Linked DNA regions of Homo sapiens: regions 2 and 3 are each linked to region 1. The links are contacts of gene promoters, found by promoter capture Hi-C in blood cells and fetal thymus (Javierre and others, 2016). All regions are on one chromosome and are shown on one strand. Each heading gives the region's core, a stretch centred on a gene start or on the middle of the fragment in contact. The rest is flanking DNA. Distances are from core to core; before and after follow the strand shown.

What was found. Contacts are between HindIII fragments. The CHiCAGO score rates a contact against its expected background, and 5 or more counts as called.
Region 2: a fragment that was not itself captured here is called in contact with the fragment with the promoter of ZNF746 in region 1 in 3 of 17 cell types (M2 macrophages, activated CD4 T cells and erythroblasts); the score reaches 6.6 in M2 macrophages.
Region 3: a fragment that was not itself captured here is called in contact with the fragment with the promoter of ZNF746 in region 1 in 14 of 17 cell types (neutrophils, naive CD4 T cells, total CD8 T cells and 11 more); the score reaches 11.2 in neutrophils.

Annotation. Positions count from the first base shown.
Region 1 is chr7:149,496,521-149,499,220 of GRCh38, forward strand. ZNF746 (zinc finger protein 746) reads right to left here and starts at 1,289. Exons shown (of 7, transcript NM_001394198.1): 1 at 993-1,289. The coding sequence starts at 1,016. RefSeq lists an enhancer at 1-550 and silencers at 684-743, 984-1,653. The HindIII fragment of the contact is 2,699 bases long and covers 260-2,700 here.
Region 2 is chr7:149,295,372-149,298,071 of GRCh38, forward strand. It overlaps the pseudogene LOC155060. Among named protein-coding and RNA genes, the nearest start is that of TRC-GCA1-1, 13 kb to the right of the region's middle. The HindIII fragment of the contact is 7,615 bases long and covers 1-2,700 here.
Region 3 is chr7:149,265,491-149,268,190 of GRCh38, forward strand. It overlaps ZNF783 (zinc finger protein 783), which reads left to right. Exons shown (of 6, transcript NM_001195220.2): 2 at 845-1,240; 3 at 1,329-1,455; 4 at 1,607-1,732. Among named protein-coding and RNA genes, the nearest start is that of ZNF783, 4.6 kb to the left of the region's middle. The HindIII fragment of the contact is 3,269 bases long and covers 1-2,700 here.

The sequences.
Region 1 (2,700 bases), core at 39-2,538:
GCCTCCAAACCAAAACCATCTTCTCCAGGCTCATGGACTCCTTTCTGTGCCTGCACACGCCCTGCACTGTCCCGTCTCTCTGCGCCTTTGCCCAGGCACTCCTCCCTCCCTGAAAGCACCACCGGTCTAGCTGGGCCTGAAATCCTAGCCTTCCCTAAAAGCCCGGCTCAAATCACAGAGGCGCAGAGCATCAGGCCAGGAGGGGTGGACAGCGGTACCAAGAGGCCCCCTGACACTCCTTCCCCCGGAGCCCACCGCAAGCTTCCACCTGGGCGCCAGCACTCACCCCTTTCTGTTTTGCACGATTATTGCCCGCGTACCTGCCTGCCTGGTCCTTGAACACACAGCCACTGTGTGTCTTTTCACACTTTCCAGCTGGGTAAGCCTGGGCAAGTTAAGTTCTCTAGGCCCCGGGTTTTTCTTTTGTATGACAGAGATTAACACCAGTACCCATCCCACAGGCTTGCTGTGAGGACAGACTAACGCCTCAACAGGGCTTGTGGAAGTGCGTGGCTCTATATTCCCTTCCGCGCCGACCCCGGGAAGCTGGGCACGTAGTGGGAGTCGGTGTATGCGGATTCGAAGCCGGACACCTCCCAGGTGCCACCAGGCCGCTGCGGGGGAGATGGAGAGGGACCTACAGGCCGAGCGCCAGGCAGAGAAAGGAGCCGCGGGTGGGGGGGCACCCAGAAGGAGGGGACAGCGGCTGGGGCGGGGGCAGGAAGCCCCGGAGGGCCCAAAGAACTTGGCGTGGGGCGGCCCGGGGCGGGGACAACCGTTCCGCCAGCGCTCGGGTTCGGCTCGGAGTGGGGGCCCGGCCGACGGGCGCAGTAGGCCCCGGCGGACCCCGCGCCCCATTCGCGGGAGCCCCAGGCCCGGTGGTCCGGCCCGGACCCCGGAACCCCTCCCCAGGGCCTGCGGCGCCGTGTGCCGGGGCCGGGCCGCCTGGGGCCCCCAGGCCGCGAGTCCCTGCGCGCGCGGGTCGCCCTTACCGGAGCCGCGACCGCCTCGGCCATGGCCCTGCGCTGTCCCGCCCGGCCCGGAGGAAGTCGTCGTCGCCGCCGCCGCGCGCGGCACCACGCAGGCCCGGCCGCCCGGTGCTCTCCGCAGGCGGCGCCTGCCTGGCCTTTCCTCTGCCGCCGCTCCTCGCTGGCTGCCCCTGCGCCGCGCCGCCCGCAGTCGCGCCGCCTCCGTCAGCGCCCGGCCGGTCCACACTGCATCCTGGGAGCCGGCGCCGCGGCCCGGCAGACGAAGGCCCGTGAGGCTTCCTGGAGGCAGCGCGGCCGCACAGCCCCACCTGCAGCCTGAGAGGCGAACGGCAGGCGCTGCGCCCGCCTGCCCGCGGCCCCGCCCCGCCCCGCCCAGCCCCGCCCGCGGGGCCCGACGGGAGGACCTAGCGACCCCGGGCCGACCCCGCGACCCCGCGACCCCGCGACCCCGGCCGGACTGCCGAGCGCGGGGGGAGTCACTGCGCTGGCCCCGCGGCCCAGCCCGAGGACTCGGTTATTGAAAGGGTCCCCCTCATGGGACCCGCCTGGCCGCGCCCGCGGGCGAGCACGGGCTTCCGGGCAGGGCGTCCCCCGGGTGACCGCGGCCAGGGCGGCCCCCTCGCCCTGGGATGCCCGGCTCCCCTTCCCCCGCCCCACGGGCACTTCTGCTGCCCGAGGTCCTGGGTCTGGAGGTTTAGGCTATTTTGGGGAGGACAGATGTAACTCATGCCCACCTGTGTTTGAAATGGAATAAATACTTCCAACAACAGGAATATAGTTCGGTAAACCCCGGTAGGCAACCACTTAGCATTTTCTGTAATGGGTTTATTACAGTAAATTTTTTTAATGGCATGAGCAATGGGACGCAATACCATCATTTAAAATGATTTCGGTGAAGGTCTTGGTAGGAACAGATGTTCATGATGTTTTAAGAGAAAAAGCCTGTCCAGGACGATCCTGTCTTTGTTTTAAAAATAACATTTTAAAACAATATAGGACATATGTAGCGTCATATACTGCGTACATGTATAATTACAGTTTTGAAAAGTTTGGAAGCATATATATCAACATGGCCTCAGTAGTTCTATTAAAGGTCTATTCCTTTAATAGACCACGGGCCGTTTTTATGCCTTTTCTAATTTTTTCCAATTCATGTTTTTATTTTTCCATGACAAGGATAGTATTTTTAAACAAGGAGAGAAAAATAAAAATTTAAATGTTCTCAAAGAGGCCAACCAGAGCAGGGGAAGGAGGGCGCCTTGGACGGGCCCCCACGTAGTTTCAGAGGCTCATTGCCTTTCAGGAACACGACTTGCTCATCTGTGTATTCCCCAAGACTAACTAGCCAACTGCCTAGCACACACTGATAAGAAAATATGTGAGAGATCTGTAATCTTTTTCAAAGAAGGCAGACCTTACAGAATAGATAAAATTTGAGCTGGATCTTGAAGAATTGGCAAAATATTGATAGGCAGAGAGCATTTCAGACCAGAGGGTGGTAGTAGAGGTGTGAGCTGGATGACAGCCCAAAAAAAAATTGATGTAGGAAGATATAAAGCATTTTAGGGCCGGGCGCAGTGGCTCACGCCCGTAATTCTAACACTTTGGGAGGCCAAGATGGGTGGATTGCCTGAGCTCAGGAGTTTGATACCAGCCTGAGCAACATGACAAAACCCCGTCTCTACTAAAAATAGAAAAAATTAGCGAGGCG
Region 2 (2,700 bases), core at 90-2,589, 200 kb before region 1:
ACAGAGCTGGGCCTCAGGAGGTGCCCTGGGGACAGGCAGCGGGGCAGTGGTGATCAGGAAGGTCTTGGGTGGGGGTCCCTTGCCCAGTTCTCTTTCTCGCGTGAAGATGGAGAATGTGGGTAGCACCCAGAGAGCTCCCTAAAGGGGCTCTGAGGGCCCAGGGGCAGTTGGTGCCCCTTAAATCTGAGCAACCTCTCCTGGGGGCCACTTCTTGGCCAGGTCAAAGTATTCTGGCCATGGTCTTGGCTTCCCGGGGGAGGGCTGTTCTCCCAGGCACTGAGATTGCCCATGGGCCTTCTCGTTGCAGGGAGGCGGCTGGGATAGAGGCCAGTCCCAAACACCTGAGCCTCACTGAGGGGAAGGCCTGGGCTTGGAGATGGGGTGCGCAGGAGTGGCTGGCTTTGCCTTGTTCTATTAGGCGAGTGATTTTCAGAGACAAAGGTCCAAGTTAGGAGACGTAATTACTCAGTGCTTTGAAGGGACATCCAAGGTGCTCACTCTTAGCCATAGCCGTTGGTTTCCTGGATGCTGACTGTGAAGATTCTAAAGTGCTTCCTAGGGTGGGCGGTGGTGGCAGGAGGCCTTGGACGGAGTCCAGGCCAGACCCAGCCTCCTGTTTAATAGGCTGAGCCCAAGCGTCCCTCAGATGCGAATCCAACAGCCTTGGTGAGTTGTAAGATTTCATGGAAACTTTCCCTGACTTCTGTCTCCCCCTTGCTCCCCATTACCTGGGAAAGGCAGCTTTGTGGGCCATGTGTCCCGGAAGGGCCTGGGCTGGCTGTGGCCCAGTGCTCAGGACCAGCCATCTTGGCCCTCACAGCGCCCTGCCCAGTTGGTGTAATATTTGTCTTCAAGCCATTGTTGGAGCAGGCAGGCAAAGGGGGCTTTCTGAGGATCCAACGTGTGCCAGCCACTGGGATACAAAGACAGGCCTGGTTCCTAGCTGTGGGGCTGGGAAGGGTATCTGACATCAATGGTGGCACCTGGCAGAGGACACACAGACAACAGCAGGCAGCATGGGCTGCAGTAAATGTTGCAGAAGCACCTAAAGGTTGAGCAGAAGGGAGGTAGGAAACCTGGACATGGCCTGCCAGCAGCTGAGAAGCCCCCCTGAGATCCTGGCGGCCCCGCCACCATCTGAAGATTTAGGCCAGTCCCTTGGGCTTTTCAGGCAGGCCCTTATGGTGGCCGGCCAGTTTGGGACCCTCCCATTTTGATACATTAGTTCCCCCTCAGCTACTGGAGATCTCAGCCACAACTGGGCTCCAGCTGTGACCCAGACTCCGCCAGGATCCCCTAGATCCTCAGCTGTCAGATAATCCCCTGTCCCCCTCCTCCTCCCCACTCAACCCCCAGTGCTTGACATGAATGCATGTGTGCTTCCTAGGACTAGAGGCCGGTGCTGTCTCTACCATTGCCCTCACTTTAAGGGGCACACGAGCAGATGGTAGCAAGCCCTGGAGAGCAGCACTCGGGCAAGTGAGGTGGCTCTGGCACTGCCCCTGGACTTTCATGTTTGTAGCTTGAGCTGGTTTTAATTGGAAGCTCTGTGATTTACATAATCACTTACAATCTCTGTAAATAAGGAACTATTTATGAGGAATTGTAAATTTCCTCTCTCCCCCTTCTTACCCTGTCTGTGATCTTGTCTGTGATGCAGTAATGATATTCCACTCTAGGTTCCCATGATCAGTGGTGAAATATAGTGATTTTCACCTGTGCTTCCATTCTGAAGTTCTGGAAAGAAGTACTGGATGGACTGAAGTCCAGGACAACGTCCCAAAGAAAGGCAGAGTCCAGGTAGGCTTGGAGGACCAAGCCCTGGATGAGCACTGGAGGGCAGAGGCCTCAGTGTCCAGCACTGTGCCCTGCACATGGAAAGCCCCTACGTTTGTGGAATGAATGAATAATAAAAATGTTTTCATAAGTGATGCCATTCTCAATTTTAATGTCATTGATCTGATAATGCAAATTTTAACAGCACATCTTTACCACTTCCTGCCTTAAATAATAGTTGTTAATACATTTCCAGTATTTCATTGAATCTAAGATCCATTGATTGTAAGACACACCCTTATTTTCTACTTCACTAAGCAAGGAAAAAATGTGTCAATTTCACCATGACTCTTCTCAGTGCAGGATGATAACTAGGTGGTGACATGTGAGCCACTGTTACTATTCTTGACAATGTCAGAGCAACTGATTCATTTCTTTGTTGAGACAGGAGTGGAGTGGCACAATCACGGCTCACTTTATCCTTGACATCCCAGGGCTCAGGTGATCCTCCCACTTCAGCCTCTCGAGTAGCTGGGACTACAGGTGCACGCCACCATGCCTGGCTAATTTTTTTTTTTTTTTGTAGAGACTGAGTTTCACCATGTTGCCCTTGCCCAGGCTGGTCTGGAACTCCTGGGCTCACACAGTCTGCCCACCTCATCCTCCCAAAGTGCTGGGATTACAGGAGTGAGCCACTGTGCCCAGCCAAATGATTCTTTTTTTTTTTTCCCCCTGAGACGGAGTCTTGCTTTGTCGCCCAGGCTAGAGTGCTGTGGCACCATCTCAGCTCACTGCAACTTCCACCTCCTGGATTCAAGCAATTCTCCTGCCTCAGCCTCCTGAGTAGCTGGGATTACAGGCACGTGCCACCATATCAAGCTAATTTTCGTATTTTTAGTAGAGACGAGTTTCACTCGAACTCCT
Region 3 (2,700 bases), core at 201-2,700, 230 kb before region 1:
CTTCTCATTGTATCCTCACGTGGCATACAGCAAGATCATCTCCCTTGTGTCTCCTCTTACAAGGGCGCTAATCCTATTTATGAGGGCTCTGCCTTCATGGCCTAATTGCCTCCCAGAAGCTCCACCTCCAAATACCGGCATATTGGGGATTAATGCTTCAGCAGATGGATATTGAGGGAGACACAAGCATTCATTCCATAGCAGTCAGTGTCATCTTAGCCCTGCAACATGGGGCTCATGTTTATTATCTGTGCTGTGCTACACATTGTACTAAGTGCTTTGTACACAGATTTTTCTTAATTCTCTCAGTGCTATTGTATAGGTACTATTATTATCTCCATTTTCTAGATAGGGAAGGGAAGTTGGAAGCTGTTGAAAACACCTTGCCCACAGTTGGCCAGCTTGTAAGTGGCAGAGCTGAGTTGCACCTGGGCTGTCCACTGGGGAGTCATGTTCTCTGTGCCACAAAGCCTTGTCCTTTCATTTTTAGAAGAGGAAACTGAGACCCAAGAAGGGGAGTCACTTGTTTGAGACTGCACGTGGTTGCTCAAGCCTGTGGGGCATGCCCCGTCTCCATAGCTAGCCTGTAGGACAGGAGCCGGGGCTGTTTTTCTTCCACTTTCCCACTTGCTGACACGTTGGTCCAGCCACTATCTCTTGTATCAGTTAGGCTGGATTCCTAACTGATACCCTAGCCTCTCCCTCTCCCCCCCAGTCTGCTGCTAACTCAGGAGCCCAGATGGGACTTTACCATGGCAGGTGTCATTTCCGAAGTGTGTTTTTGAGGTGGAAGTTTTGATTGTATAATTCTCATAACATCTCTCTTTTCTCTTCTTGTGAGCAGGACCCCGAGACAGACAAGCACACAGAGGACCAGAGTCCTTCGACACCCTTGCCCCAGCCAGCTGCTGAGAAGAACTCGTACCTCTACTCCACGGAAATCACACTGTGGACGGTGGTGGCCGCCATTCAGGCCTTGGAGAAGAAGGTGGATTCCTGCCTGACCCGCTTGCTGACTCTGGAGGGGCGCACGGGGACAGCCGAGAAGAAGCTGGCCGACTGCGAGAAGACAGCTGTGGAGTTCGGGAACCAGCTGGAGGGCAAGTGGGCCGTGCTGGGGACCTTGCTGCAGGAGTACGGGCTGCTGCAGAGGCGGCTGGAGAATGTGGAGAACTTGCTGCGCAACAGGAACTTCTGGATCTTGCGGCTGCCCCCGGGCAGCAAGGGGGAGGCCCCCAAGGTAGCACCGGGACACCCTGGGGTGGGGGAGCTCGAGGGGCTGAGCCTGTGAGCGTGTGGGTGAGTGAGTGCGACACTTATGGTTCCAGGTGCCCGTGACCTTCGATGATGTGGCCGTGTATTTCTCTGAGCTGGAGTGGGGCAAGCTGGAGGACTGGCAGAAGGAGCTCTACAAGCACGTGATGAGGGGCAACTACGAGACGCTGGTCTCCCTGGGTAAGGCCACGGAGGGAGGATCTGGGCCTCTGTCCACAGGTTGTCTGTGGACAGTCTGTGTCTTTGCTTTGGCTTTTGGTACTTTGGGCATCTCTGCATCTCTGTGGGCATGTGGGGTCCAGCTCTTCCTCATTTCTTGTTCTGTGCACAGATTATGCAATCTCCAAACCAGACATCCTCACCCGGATAGAGAGGGGAGAGGAGCCTTGTCTTGACCGGTGGGGCCAGGAGAAGGGGAATGAAGTAGAGGTGGGACGTCCAAGGATGATGGGCACTGGTAAGTATAGGAGCCAGATGTGGTTGGGGGGCCGCCAGGGGCTAGCTGCACCATCGCCTACCCTCTCGGGCTTCCCAGACAATCAGGGAGGGCAGGAAGGGAGCATAGACCATTAACCCAAAGTGGGACCACTCTGTACAAGGCCACCCTGGGCAGGAGTGGGTGGCTGGCTTGAGCCATAGGGTTTCTATATCTGTCTAAGGTGGAACATCACACTCACCTTACGTGGTTGTGATGACTGAGTGATAAGTGTTAAGCATGTACATACTGATCACTTTATAATAGTGGAGACTGGCCTGGCGCGGTGGCTCACGCCTGTAATCCCAGCACTTTGGGAGGCTGAGGCGGGCGGATCATGAGGTCAGGAGATCGAGACCATCCTGGTTAACATAGTGAAACCCCTTCTCTAGTAAAAATACAAAAAATTAGCCGGGCGTGGTGGCAGGCGCCTGTAGTCCCAGCTACTCGGGAGGCTGAGGCAGGAGAATGGCGTGAACCCGGGAGGCGGAGTTTGCAATGAGCCGAGATTGCGCCACTGCACTCCAGCCTGGGTGACGGAGCAAGACTTCATCTAAAAAAAAAAATAATGGGGACTTAGTAATACCTCCACCAGCAGCACTGCTGCCTCCTGGCATCTTCACGTGTGTCCATGTCCCCGCTATTGCTTGTGTCCCCTATTGCAGTCCCACAACCCCAGCCTGTGGCAGGAAGGCATGTCACGTGCTGGCTTCCATTTGTGTACATGGCCCTTGGTAGGAGGGCCAGGCATGCCCTGTCCTTGTAGCTGGTATATAGGACAGTGGTTCCAAAGGGGACTGCACATCACAATCCTCTGGGGAGCTTTATTTTTTCAATTAAATTTTAATAAAGTAGAATAGCACAGCGAATCTCCAAATGATCGTCACCAAAACTCAACACTCTGCTGGGTTTTGCCACATGCGCTTCATCCATCTGTTTTTACCCTTTTC